Regions from separate parts of the Homo sapiens genome. Here regions 2, 3, 4 and 5 are each linked to region 1. The links are contacts of gene promoters, found by promoter capture Hi-C in human tissues and cell types (Jung and others, 2019). All regions are on one chromosome and are shown on one strand. The core of a region is centred on a gene start or on the middle of the fragment in contact, and the rest is flanking DNA. Distances in the headings are between cores, read along the strand shown. Region 1 holds the start of SKA3 (spindle and kinetochore associated complex subunit 3). Region 2 overlaps LINC00539 (long intergenic non-protein coding RNA 539). Region 3 overlaps LATS2 (large tumor suppressor kinase 2). Region 4 overlaps LATS2 (large tumor suppressor kinase 2). Region 5 overlaps LINC00539 (long intergenic non-protein coding RNA 539).

The links. The method cuts DNA at HindIII sites, captures the fragments that hold promoters and counts their contacts. A contact is called where the count stands out against the background at its distance.
Region 2: a fragment that was not itself captured here is called in contact with the fragment with the promoter of SKA3 in region 1 in 2 of the 25 tissues and cell types used here (heart left ventricle and thymus).
Region 3: a contact is called between a fragment that was not itself captured here and the fragment with the promoter of SKA3 in region 1, in 1 of the 25 tissues and cell types used here (aorta).
Region 4: a fragment that was not itself captured here is called in contact with the fragment with the promoter of SKA3 in region 1 in 1 of the 25 tissues and cell types used here (H1 embryonic stem cells).
Region 5: a contact is called between a fragment that was not itself captured here and the fragment with the promoter of SKA3 in region 1, in 1 of the 25 tissues and cell types used here (spleen).

The regions. Positions count from the first base shown.
Region 1 is chr13:21,175,241-21,177,940 of GRCh38, reverse strand. It overlaps SKA3 (spindle and kinetochore associated complex subunit 3), which reads left to right and starts at 1,389. Exons shown (of 9, transcript NM_145061.6): 1 at 1,389-1,566. The coding sequence starts at 1,464. MRPL57 (mitochondrial ribosomal protein L57) reads right to left here and starts at 1,283. Exons shown (of 2, transcript NM_024026.5): 1 at 1,224-1,283; 2 at 1-1,029. The coding sequence starts at 1,024. The coding sequence ends at 716. RefSeq lists enhancers at 814-1,133, 1,149-1,871, 2,594-2,700. The HindIII fragment of the contact is 23,400 bases long and covers 1-2,700 here.
Region 2 is chr13:21,305,095-21,307,794 of GRCh38, reverse strand. All of the region lies in intron 2 of LINC00539 (long intergenic non-protein coding RNA 539), which reads left to right. It also overlaps the pseudogene MIPEPP3. Among named protein-coding and RNA genes, the nearest start is that of LINC00539, 38 kb to the left of the region's middle. The HindIII fragment of the contact is 3,239 bases long and covers 1-2,700 here.
Region 3 is chr13:21,022,795-21,025,494 of GRCh38, reverse strand. All of the region lies in intron 2 of LATS2 (large tumor suppressor kinase 2), which reads left to right. Among named protein-coding and RNA genes, the nearest start is that of LATS2, 37 kb to the left of the region's middle. The HindIII fragment of the contact is 5,572 bases long and covers 1-2,700 here.
Region 4 is chr13:20,991,394-20,994,135 of GRCh38, reverse strand. It overlaps LATS2 (large tumor suppressor kinase 2), which reads left to right. Exons shown (of 8, transcript NM_014572.3): 3 at 2,732-2,742. Among named protein-coding and RNA genes, the nearest start is that of LINC00367, 43 kb to the right of the region's middle. The HindIII fragment of the contact is 3,925 bases long and covers 1-2,742 here.
Region 5 is chr13:21,339,408-21,342,146 of GRCh38, reverse strand. All of the region lies in intron 1 of LINC00539 (long intergenic non-protein coding RNA 539), which reads left to right. It also overlaps the pseudogene MIPEPP3. Among named protein-coding and RNA genes, the nearest start is that of LINC00539, 4.1 kb to the left of the region's middle. The HindIII fragment of the contact is 3,774 bases long and covers 1-2,739 here.

The DNA of each region.
Region 1 (2,700 bases), core at 140-2,639:
GCTCTCGGCTCACTGCAACCTCCGCTTCATTGCAACCTCTGCCTCTGAGGTTCAGGCGATCCTCCCACCTCAGCGTCCCAAGTAGCTGGGATTGCAAGCCTGCACCAACATACCCAGCTAATTTTTTTTGTATTAGTAGAGACGGGTTTTATCACCTTGGCCAAGCTGGTCTTGAACTCCTGACCTCAAGTGATCCGCCCGCCTTGGACTCCTAAAGTGTTGGGATTACAGGCGTGAGCCACCGCACCCGGCCTCTTTTACTTCGCTTAAATGTCCAATTTTAGTAGTAAAATCCCGGAAAATGTTTTTAGGAGTATGTTTAACTGAAAAGCTCATATTTTCTTTCATTTTTGGGCAATTCTTAAGGTAAGCAAACTAATGTTGCATGATAAAGCCCCCATCAAGTATCTCATACTTAAGCAAAGACCTCAAATCATTGTGGCTTTATTGCAGCTTTCCTTCAAAATATCATCTGTGACTGAGGAAATCCCTATCTTCCTATCAGACTAATGAAACCACAGGACAGCAATTAGACTTTTAAGTATTGGGGGTTTAGAGCTCTAGATATTCGATATGCAGACTACTCATGTTTGTTTGTTTTAATAAAGACTGGTCCAAAGGCTCATTTTCACACAAGCTACAGTTTTTCAGTTCCAGGACCAGGTAAAGATGGTCAGCTCCGTGATCCATAAAATCCAAGGGTGACGACTCAGGATTAGGACCATTTCTTGGTGACATTGAGATGGTCGAGCTGGTCCGCAATGAATCTATGCGGGGGGAACTTGGAAGTGGCGGCCGCCTTTATGGCCTCGAAGGCCTCCCTCCTGCGCACCGCGGCGTGGCCGCGCTCCTGCTCCCGGGTCATGTAGGGCATGCTCAGCCAGTAATGGTTCTCCGCCTCGATCTCCAGGCGGCGGATCATGTTCTGCTTGGCGCGCAACGACACGAACCGCGGCCGCCGGTGCTTCCCGATCCACTGACGGCCGGGAATGCGGCCGCGCCAGAGGAGCGCAGTCAGGAACATGGTGCCTGCGGAAGAGAGGGACGGGCTTTGCGGAGGCGAACTGGCGCGGCCGGACCTGGAGAGAGCAGCGGGCGCGCGCTCCAGCTCACGCCTACGGGAGTTCCCGCACCGCCTCCCCTCCAGAGAAGCGGGGAGCCCAGGTAAGGCCAGCAGGCGAAGAAGGAGCTCCCTAGAGAACCGAATTCGCACAGCTACTCACCTGCCGCGCTGCTCAAGACTCTGCGTCTCCGCGGCCGCCAGCAGACGCCGTGGCGTAAGCGCACCCGTCTCGCGGGGTCTCCTGGGGCCTCGGCGAGAGACTTCGGCTCTCGCGAGAGAGGACTGCGCCTGCGCAGAGCCGAGGACGCGTCCGGCGCCGAGATTCAAACTAGTGGCGGGAGGCTGTGAGCTGAGCGGTGGGGTCTGCGTACGCCTGGAGTCCTTCCCCGCTGTGCTCAGCATGGACCCTATCCGGAGCTTCTGCGGGAAGCTGCGGTCTCTGGCCAGCACGCTGGACTGCGAGACGGCCCGGCTGCAGCGAGCGCTGGACGGAGAGGAAAGCGGTGCGTGAGGCGGGCGGCCAGGGCACGGTGCGTGGGGTGCGCCGCGGGCGGAGGGGCGTGGCGAGTGGACGGTATGTCCCACGGGAACCGCCAGGCACTGACGGCGTGGACGGCTGCCACCGAGGCGCAGGGCGGGTGCTGCGCGTCTCACTGCTCGGCGTTTGGCGTTAGCGTAGCTCCCGGGCCTGTTTATGGTTTATTCCTAGGAACCCTTGTCGCGTGTCCGTTTTAGACCCATGTACAACCCCACGGCTCTCTTGAGATAATGAAAGTAGCACTATTACGTTATAAACAGAGACAGCAGCACTTAAGAATAAGAACCTAAATTAACAGATTGAGCTCATAATACATATACTAATTTATACGTGATATGCTTTCGTCACATACAATATGTGTGCTTGTCAGTAAAATACCATGTAAACCTAAACAGTTTCTCTTAGAATCAAGCTATTTAACGTTCTTTACACAATACTTTACACATATAGTGACTTTTTTCTCACTCACGTGGTCCACAGTTGCAGTAAACCTCTGTGTTTTTCCCGCTAAACCATGTTGCCAACACAAACACTAGTACTCAACAGTGCTGGGGTTTAAAAAAATATGTGTATATAAATAAAGCAAAATTCACCATTCCCCTTTTTATTAGAGATTTTTTAAATTGTTGAAAAAGTAGTTCAGATTTTGGAATTATTTCATAAATGTCATAATTGTAATGTGCTTTAAAATATTACACCCTGCAGACTACTTTTACTTTAATTATATAATGAATGATCTCCAGTCACTTGAAAATGTCTATTTCTGCCCGGCGCGGTGGCTCACGCCTGTAATCCTAGCACTTTGGGAGGCTGAGGCGGGCGGATCACAAGGTCAGGAGATCGAGACCATTCTGGCTAACACGGTGAAACCCCGTCTCTACTAAAAATACAAAAAATTAGCCGGGCGTGGTGGCGGGCGCCGGTAGTCCCAGCTACTCGGGAGGCTGAGGTAGGAGAATGGCGTGAACCCGGGAGGCGGAACTTGCAGTGAGCCGAGATCCGCCACTGCACTCCAGCCTCGGCGACAGAGCAAGAGTCCGTCTCAAAAAGAAAAAAAGATTTGGCCGTGCACGGTGGCACACGCCTGTAATCCCAGCAT
Region 2 (2,700 bases), core at 6-2,505, 130 kb before region 1:
ACTCCCACACATGGATCCCAGAAGTCAGGGAGAGAGTGAGTGTGGAGGCCTACCTCCTCCCAACCTGCTCACCCACGGAGCCACTCCATGGCAAAGGAACAGTAGCTCAGAGGCTGCCCGCACTGCCCCCACTGCAGAGGTTTAAGGAAATCTCCCAGTAGTATGTTTTATGTTGGAAGACCCTGAGATAAAGCCCATACTTCAGTCTGTATTTGTCCTCCCACAAAATGAAGAGTGCTTGTCCATGAGACCAGCCCACGTCTAATTCGGCAGGACACAGCATGCAGAGAGCCTCGAGCAGGCAGCCCACTGCTGACTCCTTCCCAGGGGCCTTTCCCCGAGAGGCAAAGCTTTCTCCCAGGGAGTCCCCACTTTCAGCCCTGTCAGCATGCCCAGTGTCTGCACTCTGCAGGGCCCCGTTCTGTCCCATTACGCAAGTTGGTTTTCAGCGGCTATGGGGAAAGTCACACACGATTGTGCCAAAGTGAACAAATGTTGGCGACCTGGGGAAAAGCAGCAGCTGCACATCCTGAAGCGTTGGGTCTTCCAAGGAAGCCTCGTCTAACCAGAGAAGCCATCACTCTCCTCCTCCAACAATTTCTGGCATATGAAATTGTCTTATCGTGTTACCCCCTTTTCCCTGTTGTAAATCCACGCTGGCGAGCCCAGGGCTCTCCCTAGCTCTATACACTGCCTGGCATGGTGCCATGCAGCTAAGTGTGTTGGAATACAGCGCTGTCCACCATTCAGTTATTTTAACAAGCACTATGGAGCTCTTATAAGTGGCTTAAAAACACTCACATTTACCCCAAAATCACTTTAAAATAATTCACTCCATCACAGCCTCAGCCAGAGCCTGCTCCAGCTCTCCCACAGACTTTCACAGCCTCCCTAGACTCCCCTAATTCCAACTCAACAGGGACCACAAGGACACTGTTTATAGAGCGTTTTGGCTTCTCGCCCCGTGGCCCACAGCCATTGATGCAACAGCAATTTAATCAAGCGATAATCTAGTAAGTCCAACTTGCCACTAGGACACTAAAAAGCCCTTATTTAAGGTAAGTGATAATGGTGATGACAAGAATCCTGGGTGTCTGTCATCTCAGATTATCAAGTGACACCTTTACATTGATCTCATTTAACACTCACAAGGACCCTGAGGCAGGGTTAACTTTATGACCCCATTTACAGAGAAGGAAATGACTGAGAGAACAGACAACCAGCCCTGAGGCCCAGTGCCTGCCTGCAAGGTGAGCCAATGGCCTGTCCTGAGACCTCCCTCCGGCCACCCCTGGTCACACACACCTCCCACCCTGCTGGGCGGGGGACAAGCACTATGGACAAAACTGCCTACGGCACAAGTCCATGAAACCGGATCACCCAGGACTTGGCACGGAGGTGGGGAGGGGAACAGCACATACTTCTCTACCATGGTGCCAATACTTCTACAAGCTTCTTCTGCGACTTCCCTGAATGCTGGCTCAGGGTGAGCGATTTTCACAAAATCAGCCTAATAAAGGGGAAAGACGAAACCAAAAGGGAATTTGATGGGAAGCTTTCTTCCAGGATCTGGGGGTGAAAATGAAAACTGGGTTTTAAGATGTGCCATTGGCTTGGCCTATGCATTTCCATTACTGACTTTTTCCTAAGCGAGTAAAGCAAAGCAGCTGCTTTCTGAACATTTATTTAATTCTGTTATTCCTTGAAACCAAGTTTGTTTCTTTCCAAAAAAAATAATTTTATTAACTTTGTTTCAGAAAAGTTTTTCTCCTTCAAATATAAACACCAAGCAAATTCTTCCTAACCCTTTATTAAATCAAAAGAGCAGACACTGGTTTCAAATATTCTACAACTTTCTGGCTAAAATTCTTTGCAGTATGGTTCTCACAGGTTAACCTAGCTCCAAAAAACAACTCTTAGAGGCTTGTTTTCTTTAACTGACACATAGTATAGTTTCAAAACTCATTTAACTACACTTTAGTCTTTAACTACATTCTAGTCTTTGTGCAGAAAACAAAGGCACAGTCTCTTTAGTCCTTTTAATAAAATATGAGTTCAGTCTCCATGTAATACTGTGTACAACTACTACTGCTGCTGCTACTTAAGTCATTAGAAATTAAAATGAGCAACAATTTTTTTAAAAAGATAAAATGATGTAAAACTAAATTTTCGTTTTCATGTCAATTGTAACAAAAAGCAGAGAAACTACAAAACACTACATATTTTATTTGCCAAGAAGATGTGTGACTATAACATGAAATAAAATCACCACAAGGTAAAATTTCCTGATTTTATTATCAAATAGTTTTTAATGCCAAAACATTTAAATCCATAGTTTGGTATATTTGTTGTAAGAATTGGTAACGATAAAATAACATTAGTACCAAAGTATCTGAAAAATGAGTTACATAAATTTACATTTTTTTTTTTACAAATTACTAATCTACATGTGAATTTATAATCAATATTAAAATTCAAAACACTAGCATGCACATTAACAACTGATTTCTAATAGTGATGAGGAAAACAGTTCTGTTACGTAAAAACTGTGTTGAAAACAAAGAAAACAAAATGACTATTTAGTGAAAAAGTTTATAAGACGATTGCCTTATAATAGTACCAACATTACTGGTAGGTAACATCTCAAAAATTCAAAAAGGAGAAAGGTTCTTTTTTACCCGGAGAACTACATATATAAAT
Region 3 (2,700 bases), core at 115-2,614, 150 kb after region 1:
GTCTTCCAGAAAATGATCCCATGTCCGTGTCCGACCCCCTCAGGTGCCAACCAGAAACTCTTCCTCACTCATGACCATAATTTTTTTTTTTTTTTTTTTTTGGAGACGGAGTCTCACTCTTGTCGCCCAGGCTGGAGTGCAGTGGCATGATCTTGGCTCATTGCAACCTCTGCCTCCCGGGTTCAAGCGATTCTCCTGCCTCAGCCTCCCTAGTAGCTGGGATTATAGGTGCTTGCCACCATACCCGTCTAATTTTTGTATTTTTTTTTTTTTTTTTAGTAGAGACGGGGTTTCGCCATGTTGGCCAAGCTGGTCTCGAGCTCCTGACCTCAGGTGAGCCACCGCACCTGGCCCCGTGACCATAAATTATACCTCATTAAAGGTGTCTTACAGACTTCATGGGAGTAGCAAGTAGTAGATCAGCCATAAAGGAATACTGATTATAATTGATAGTAACCTGTTAAATATATAAAAATCAATGAATCAAAAAACAAAACCAGGCAAAAAGTTATGGGGGAAGCCTGGTCTGCAGGGCTGTACATAAATGTGCGTGTCTCTGGGCCTGGCTGAGCCTGTGGGGACAGCCCCAGGCCATGCGTGGCTTTGGAGGCCTTGAGATGGGGCTCATCTCAATTGAGGTGTGCAGTGAGTATAGGATACACACCCGATTTGGAAGACATAGTGCAAAAAAGAGAATATAAAATGTCAGTATTTCTAACATTGCTTACTTGTTGAAATGTTAATATTTGGATGTATTGGGTTGAAATATACATCTTTTAACATCAGTACTTTTTTTTTTTTTTTTAATGTGGGTATAAGACAATGGAAAATTCCACATGTGGCTCGAGTTACATTTCTGTGGGACAGCACGGTGCTGGTCAGTGATGACCGTCAAAGTGAGATGTCATCCGTGAGGCGCTATGCAGGAAGAGCTCCCGCAGGGCCATACTCAACTTTTAGATATGCCCTGGCGAGAACCGCCACTGAACCCCACTGAAAGTCCAGCCAACCTAAAAAGGGTTAACTTTTATATTATTTATTATCATTTATTATTATTATCATTCAGAGTCTCACTCTGTCGCCCAGGCTGGGGTACAGTGGCGCGATCTCGGCTCACTGCAACCTCCGCCTCCCAGGTTCAAACAATTCTCCTGCCTCAGTCTCCTCAGTAGTTGGGATTACCAGGCATGTGCTACCACACCCAGCTAATTTTTTTTTATTTTTAGTAGAGATGGGTTTCACCATGTTGGCCAGGCTGGTCTTGAACTCCTGACCTCAAGTGATCCCTCCCCCTCAGCCTCCCAAAGTGTCTGGATTACAAGTGTGAGCCACTATGCCCGGCCCATTCCTGTTATTTTTCAAGCTGTTTTTTCTTTTTCTTTTTTTTTTTTTTTTTTTTTTGCACAGCGAGACACTTTAACCTTTCTGGGGAAGGTCTGTAAACTCCCTGGGGGGCCCTTCCCGAGGATGCCTGCTTGTTTTCCAAAGCCCCCTGAGTTGTGTTTTGTTTTGTTTTTTCTTGAGAGGGAGTTTCACTCTTGTTGCCCAGGCTGGAGTGCAATGGTGCGATCTCGTCTCCCTGCTACCTCTGCCTCCTGGGTTCAAGCGATTCTCCTGCCTCAGCCTCCTGAATAGCTGAAATTATAGGCATGCGCCACCATGCCCAGCTAATTTTGTATTTTTAGTAGAGACGGGGTTTCTCCAGGTTGGTCAGGCTGGTCTTGAATTCCCGACCTCAGGTGATCCACGCGGCTCAGCCTCCCAAAGTGCTGGAATTACAGGCGTCAGCCACTGCGCCCGGCCGAGGTTTGTTTTTTTTTTTTTTTTTTTTTTTTTTTTTTTTTTTTTAAAGCCAGTCATAGAAAATGTGTCATTTGGTGGACCTCCCTCCCATCCTTTTGAAATCCTAAGACCTTGCTGTGTTATTGACCATCAATCTCAGACACTGTCTGGGCTCTCCGGCAGCGTGGAGAGTCCTGGCCCCGCCTCGAGAACAGAGGCCAAGGACGGGAAGTGCAGGGGTCCGTGTACTTGCAGTTGGGTTCTATTCTACCCACACGGTGTCTTACAAGTTTTTTAAAAATGTCTTTCCAACTTTTAAGAACCAAGAGCTTTCACACTGAAAATTGGGCCTGGAGAGGGGGCGAGCGCCTGTGGTCCCAGTGTGTCAGGAGACTGAGGCAGGAGGATGGGACGTAGTGAGACCCTATCTCTAAAAAGAAAAAAAAAAAGGAATTAAGAAAATTGGGTTTTTAGCATTCCTAGAAATGTAGAAGCCCTGAGCTGCGTCTCCTGTGTGGGAGCTGGTCCCACTCCCCGGCCTTCGGAGCCCTCGGAGCCCGGAGCCCTCGATGCAGCGCTATGGATGCCGGGAGCGATCTTTGGAAAGGAGTCCCCGGCTCGAGCGACACTGCCCCCCTGGGGCTCTGCAGGTGCATGCAGTGGGATTGCTGGGCTGGACTAGAGGGTGAGGGTGGCTTCCCCCACACCCCCTTTCCTGGCTAATCAGAGAAAATCAAAACACCCTTGCCCAAGCGTCCAGCTGGAGAGTGAAGAAGGGGAGTCTATTGCTTATTTGTATATGATGAAGATTATAGATGTGTTCTAGGAAACATGATTATTTCCTTTAAAGCAGGAAATAATCTGCAAAATCCCTTTATGAACATAATGAGGATCTTTTATTCTCTCGCAGGGTGGATA
Region 4 (2,742 bases), core at 161-2,660, 180 kb after region 1:
ATGCACAATAAACATACACATCTTGAGTAGTGGGTGCTCCATAAACAGGGAGGGAATTTGAGAACATCCACATTGACCTAGTCTGTCCTGGAGCTGTCCCTTCCTTGGCAGTCAACAGGTACTGGGTTAATGAGCACAGGCTGGTGATTCACCCTGCAGGAGACAGAGCGTTGGTCACGTTTCAGATGAAGCAATTGAACGGTTAGTGCTGATGGAAAGGCTTGTGGTTAGAGTCAGCCCCAATTGGCACATTTTTTTAATGGGCGCCAAAAGCTCCAGGGTGATCCCACAAAGATGTGGTCTTATATCGTGTCTTCCTCCAAGCTGTTGAGTCTTCGTAGACGTGATCTCATCGCATAGCTCCCGAAGTAGGCGGTGGTGGGAGTCTTATCTCCTGTCCCAGGTGGGGTCAGGAAGCACTTCCCTTCTGAACCACCGCTGCCTTCTCTCTGCAACTCTTCCAGGTTGTAAACACTTGCCCTTTCTGGTAGTCCAGGCGCCACTTTAACAAACAGGTCTGTTCTTATTACCATTTTCCAATCTGTCACTTCATGTCCCATGTCCCACATGGGCAGGCAACATGGCCTGCCCATGTGGCGGCACCTCCCCAGGCCTTCCACCTCGTGCTCCTCTGCAGCCCCTTGCCTGTCCCTGCCATCTTGCCATGCCCACGCCTGCATTGCTAAGAACACAGTTTACAGCCTGTGTTTTTTGTGCTGCCATTCTGCTGGCATATGGCCAGGACTGGAAAGCTTGATTCAGTATTAGACCATCATATATGGACAATAAGTGCTTAATTTGTTCTAGGCACTGTGTTAAGGGGGCAGAAGCAACCATGAGTAACATGGATTCAGGCCCTGCCAGGTTCTTCTTGTCCTAAGGGAACCACAGACACACAGCTGAGTGCGATTCAGATCATGGGCACCACAATGCCCTATCCAGAGGTGGGGGACACTCAGTGCTGCATCTCTCTCTGCGGAGTGGCTCTGTGACCATGGCCAGGCTTCCTGCTGCAGAGCAGCCCTGCACGGCCTCCCCCACTGTCCGGGGTCTTTCTGTATCTCCACCCCCCCATTTTTTTTTTTTTTTTTTTTTTTTTTGGAGATGGAGTCACACTTTGTCGCCAGGCTGGAGTGCAGTGGCGTGATCTCGGCTCACTGCAGCCTCCACCTCCCAGGTTTCAAGCAATTCACCTGCCTCAGCCTCCTGAGTAGCTGGAACTACAGGCACACACCACCATACCCAGCTAATTTTTGTATTTTTAGCAGAGACGGGATTTCACCATGTTGGCCAGGATGGTCTCGATCTCTTGACCTCTTGATCCACCTGCCTCGGCCTCCCAAAGTGCTGGGATTACAGGCGTGAGCCACCACGCCCAGCCATCTCCACCCCTTTCTTCTCTGCTGTCTGGGTAACTGTGGACTCCTTTCCGGAGCTCCCCGTTCTACATTTTCAGTTTCCTCCTGCCTGGTTGCCCTCCTCGTTGACCTTCAGAGTGCTCAGCCTTTCTTCTTCTGCTGAAGCCCTTTTTGTGGCCTTTGCCTGTTTTTGCCCTTGTCCCACAGCCAGCCTCAACGGTGTTCTTTTCTCTCTGCTCACCCTCCCTGTTTGCCTACAGCTCTGCGGAGCTGTCCTGAAAGGTGAAGGGGGCGCCTTCATCAGAGCCTCACCGCCCCGCGCCACTGGGCTGCATCTCTTCGGTACCCTCCTGCCTATTCTGTCTCCCCCATCTGAGTGCCTCCAGCTCTGCACCCACAGCCGCCCCCAGCCTGACCTGCTGATGCCGTATGTCCCAGTTTGAAAGCTTCCTCGAATGCCTGCAGACAGGAGCAAAACCCTGGAGAGCCTGGCCCCCATCTGTGGGTCCATCCCCCCATCTCCACCTACCCTTGCGTGCTGCTGCCATGGGCCCATCTTTCCCCAGGCTTCTGCTCTGGCTGTCCCATCTGCCAGGAATGCCTTTTCTCTCCCAGGGCTCTCCACCTGCCCAAAGTCTGGAACAGCTAGCCATGCCACCACCTCATCTTTCGGGTGGAAGGAGGCTTTCTCCTGTGGCCCTCATCCATTTTACCTGCCCTCTCCCGTGGTGGCCACCAGTCCCTGTGTTCTTCCCACAAGCAGTTTGAGCTACCTGTCCTGGACCGGTGTGGCTCCATGGGCCCCTGTTTTGTCTCCTTTCTTTCTTCTACGAGTCAGATCTCTAAGGGCCAGTCCTCCGCTGCTATAGCCAGCATGGGGCATTGTAAACAGTAGGCGTGTAATATATGACTCTTCGGCAGCTGCACCCTCTCCCTGGGGACAGGTTTCCTAGTCCCAGAGTTAGCCTGGAGGTGAGCTGAGGTTAAAGCCAGGTTCCCTGACTCCCACAGTTCTTCCCCTTAAATGTTTCTAGTTTTAGGTTCATCCTGAACTCACCAGTCCAACCACAAAAGTTTTCTGAGGAGAAGCAGAATTTAAGTCTCTTTCAGGCCCATCATCAAAATTCCCATATGTCCTTGACATAAGGCTAAATAGTCTATGGTGTGGCTTGTGCTAGGCTTTTGCCATCAGGTACCTGCAGGGCACACAGCCACCTGCACTCATTCTGAGGGTCTCCTGCAGCATATCGCAGGTTCTCAGCAGTACAGAGGCGAAGTGTCCCAGCACAGTCCAGCACGGAGTGGGGATGGGAGTCTTTGGTGGCTTTGTTTTAGGATGACATGCACTTACCTCTCCTTTACTTCCCTCCCAGGAGATGGCTGG
Region 5 (2,739 bases), core at 83-2,582, 160 kb before region 1:
GGGCTCCCTGGCCTTCTGAGGTGACGGGGAGGCTCTGAGCCCACACGTGGTCTCTCACAGGCTTTGGGGCTGCATTCACAGTTTCTCAGTTTCCCTGACAGTGGGGGTTCACTGAGATGTTAGGGACCCCTGTAGTGATAATATCCGCTATGACTTATGAGCGCTCCCTACCTGTCAGCCACAGTCCCGGGAGGAGCAGCCTGGGTTCCTGCTGGGGAGAACCCCTTGAGCCAGCGTGAAGGCTGTGACCTTCCCAGGTCTTATGGGCGGGGATTCCTCAGAGAGACTCGTGCCTTGCTTCACTTGAGGCCTGAAAAAGCTCCTGTTTGTTCTTTGATTTGGGAGGGGGCGGGGGTTGCATTTTCCTTGTTTTTTGCTTTGTTTCCGTGCATGTATAGAATTGAGCCAAATGGAATAGATGCTTTAAACTCTGAATGCATTTTGCCATTGCTGTTTAAAAAGCTTGTTCTCGTTTAAATTCACGTCATCAGTGAATGAGAGTGTTTACCTCACAATATCCTCACCGGTTTTATATATCATGCTTTTCAAATTTGTGCCAATTTTAGAGTGGGAAAATGGTTGTGAATGTGAACTTATAAAGGAAATAATTGTTGGCTGTTGTGAAAAATGAATATTTGTGTTCATTTCCTAAAAACTAGAGTTGGATCCCTAAGAATACCCAACATTGTCAAACAACAGCAGGCGGGCCAGGTGCGGTGGCTCATGCCTGTAATCCCAGCACTTTGGGAGGCCGAGACAGACAGACCACTTGAGGTCAGGAGTTCGAGACCAGCCTGGCCAACACGGTGAAACCCCGTCTCTACTAAAATACCAAAATTAGCCAGGGGTGTTGGCGGGCGCCTGTGATCCCAGCTACTCAGGAGGCTGAGGAAGGAGAATCGCTTGAACCCAGGAGGCAGAGGTTGCAGTGAGCTGAGATGGCGCCACTGCACTCCAGCCTGGACAACAGAACAAGGCTCTGTCTCAAAACAAAACAAAAAAACAAAAAACAACAACAGCAGCCACCTGCTTCTTGAGCAGCCTTGAATGTCTGTTCTCCTGTAAGCTCTGGTGAGGAAAATCCTCTCGGAATTTGCTGCCGTCCTCCCCTCTAGGGCTGGGACATAGGATGAGTACTCCAGGCTGGATTTAATAGAGATGCAGTTGGATATCTGAAACATGGACTCCAGCCGGAGGCTAGCACACTCTGTCCTGCCTTGGAAACTCCAGAACTAGAGTTTGGGGGTGAAGTCAGCACAGTTGACACAGTTGTCAGGGGAGGGGGGTTGGTTGGCTGTGATTCTGGGCCACTGGGGACACTTGGGAAGGTTGGCTTTGCTATGCTGCAGTAGGAACTTCTTGGACACGCAGTCCCCAAGGTTTGGATATTCCCTTGCTGGGCTACATGCATCCAGGATGAGCTAAACCCTGGTCCCACCTGCTCTGACCATAGCCCTCTCTGGAGCCTCTTCCAAGCCTCAGTGCTACTGGGTGGAATTGAAGGAGAGACCCTTTTAGGCTTGAGGAAAAGGACAGTCACTGGATAGCCAGAGCTGTGGAAAATAGGGACAAGGCTTGGCCAGGCAAAGCCATCGATTCAGGAGAAGGCAGGAGAAGCTTGGGTCAGGTGGGGCTCCAGAGGGGCTTCTTGCCCCCAGAGGGGCCTTGGACTACAAGGTCCCAGAGCTCCCCTGATTCCAGGATTCTGCAAAAGAGTGAACCAAGAACAACCTAGAGCAAACGTCTCTGAATCAAAAAAGGGACAGCACCTCGGGGCACAGAGGTGGGCATAGAGGGAACAGGCTGTTACGCACCTGTGTGACCCCAGGCATGTCACTTAACCTCTCTGGGCCTAACTTCTTCACCTAGAAAATGACAGTTAGGGCAAACTCTGAGGAATGATTTTATTTTGGGATTTGTGCATGCAGCCAGGTCTATGTGAGCCATAAAGATAACTCTTCCCTCTCTGCATCTTCCAAACCTACCAAAGAACCGAGGCTGACAGAATAGAAACGGGGACGCTGAGGAGGTGGGACTGGAGGCGTCCTCCTTCCTTTCTTGGTATGGCCGGAGCTCCCTCTGCCTCCAGACAGGCCACTCCTTGGGCTTCCATTTGCACATCTTATCCCTTTGATGATAGAACATGCCCTACCTGCCCGCAGGTTTGACAAGGCAAACATTTGGTTCCGTTTATTGGGGTAGCTCAGGTCCACTGCTTCGTAGGTGTGATTTCACTCAGTCCTTCACACAAACCGTGAGGTTGACCTCATGTTCATCCCCACAACACAGATGAGAAAACCAAGGGTTAGAGGACAGGCAGTGAGGGGCAGGCAAAGCCAGGGGTCAGATCTGTTCTGGCTTCAGAGCCTCGACTCTGTCTCACAAATAGAATATTTTCTTCTAAAAGTCATAGCACTGTCTTTGGGGTGGGGTGGGGCCACGGATTTTCTTGTCGAAAAAGATCTAGAGCTCTCATATGGAAATGGGTCCACAGGGGCAAGGAGCCTGGCCAGGAGTTGGAACACTGATGGATGGATACTTTTGGAAGGTGCTGGGAATGGGCACGCTGTCAAAGTCACTGGCCACTGCTCTCACCTGTACATGGTATTGAGTACTGGTCCACGTACTCAGCCAGTTCCTTCACAAGTCTGCGAGAGTGGGCACATACCTGAAGAATGAGGATGGGGCGGGGAGGGTGAGGAGGGAAAATGGGAGCATAATGCAGGGTCCTACCTGGGG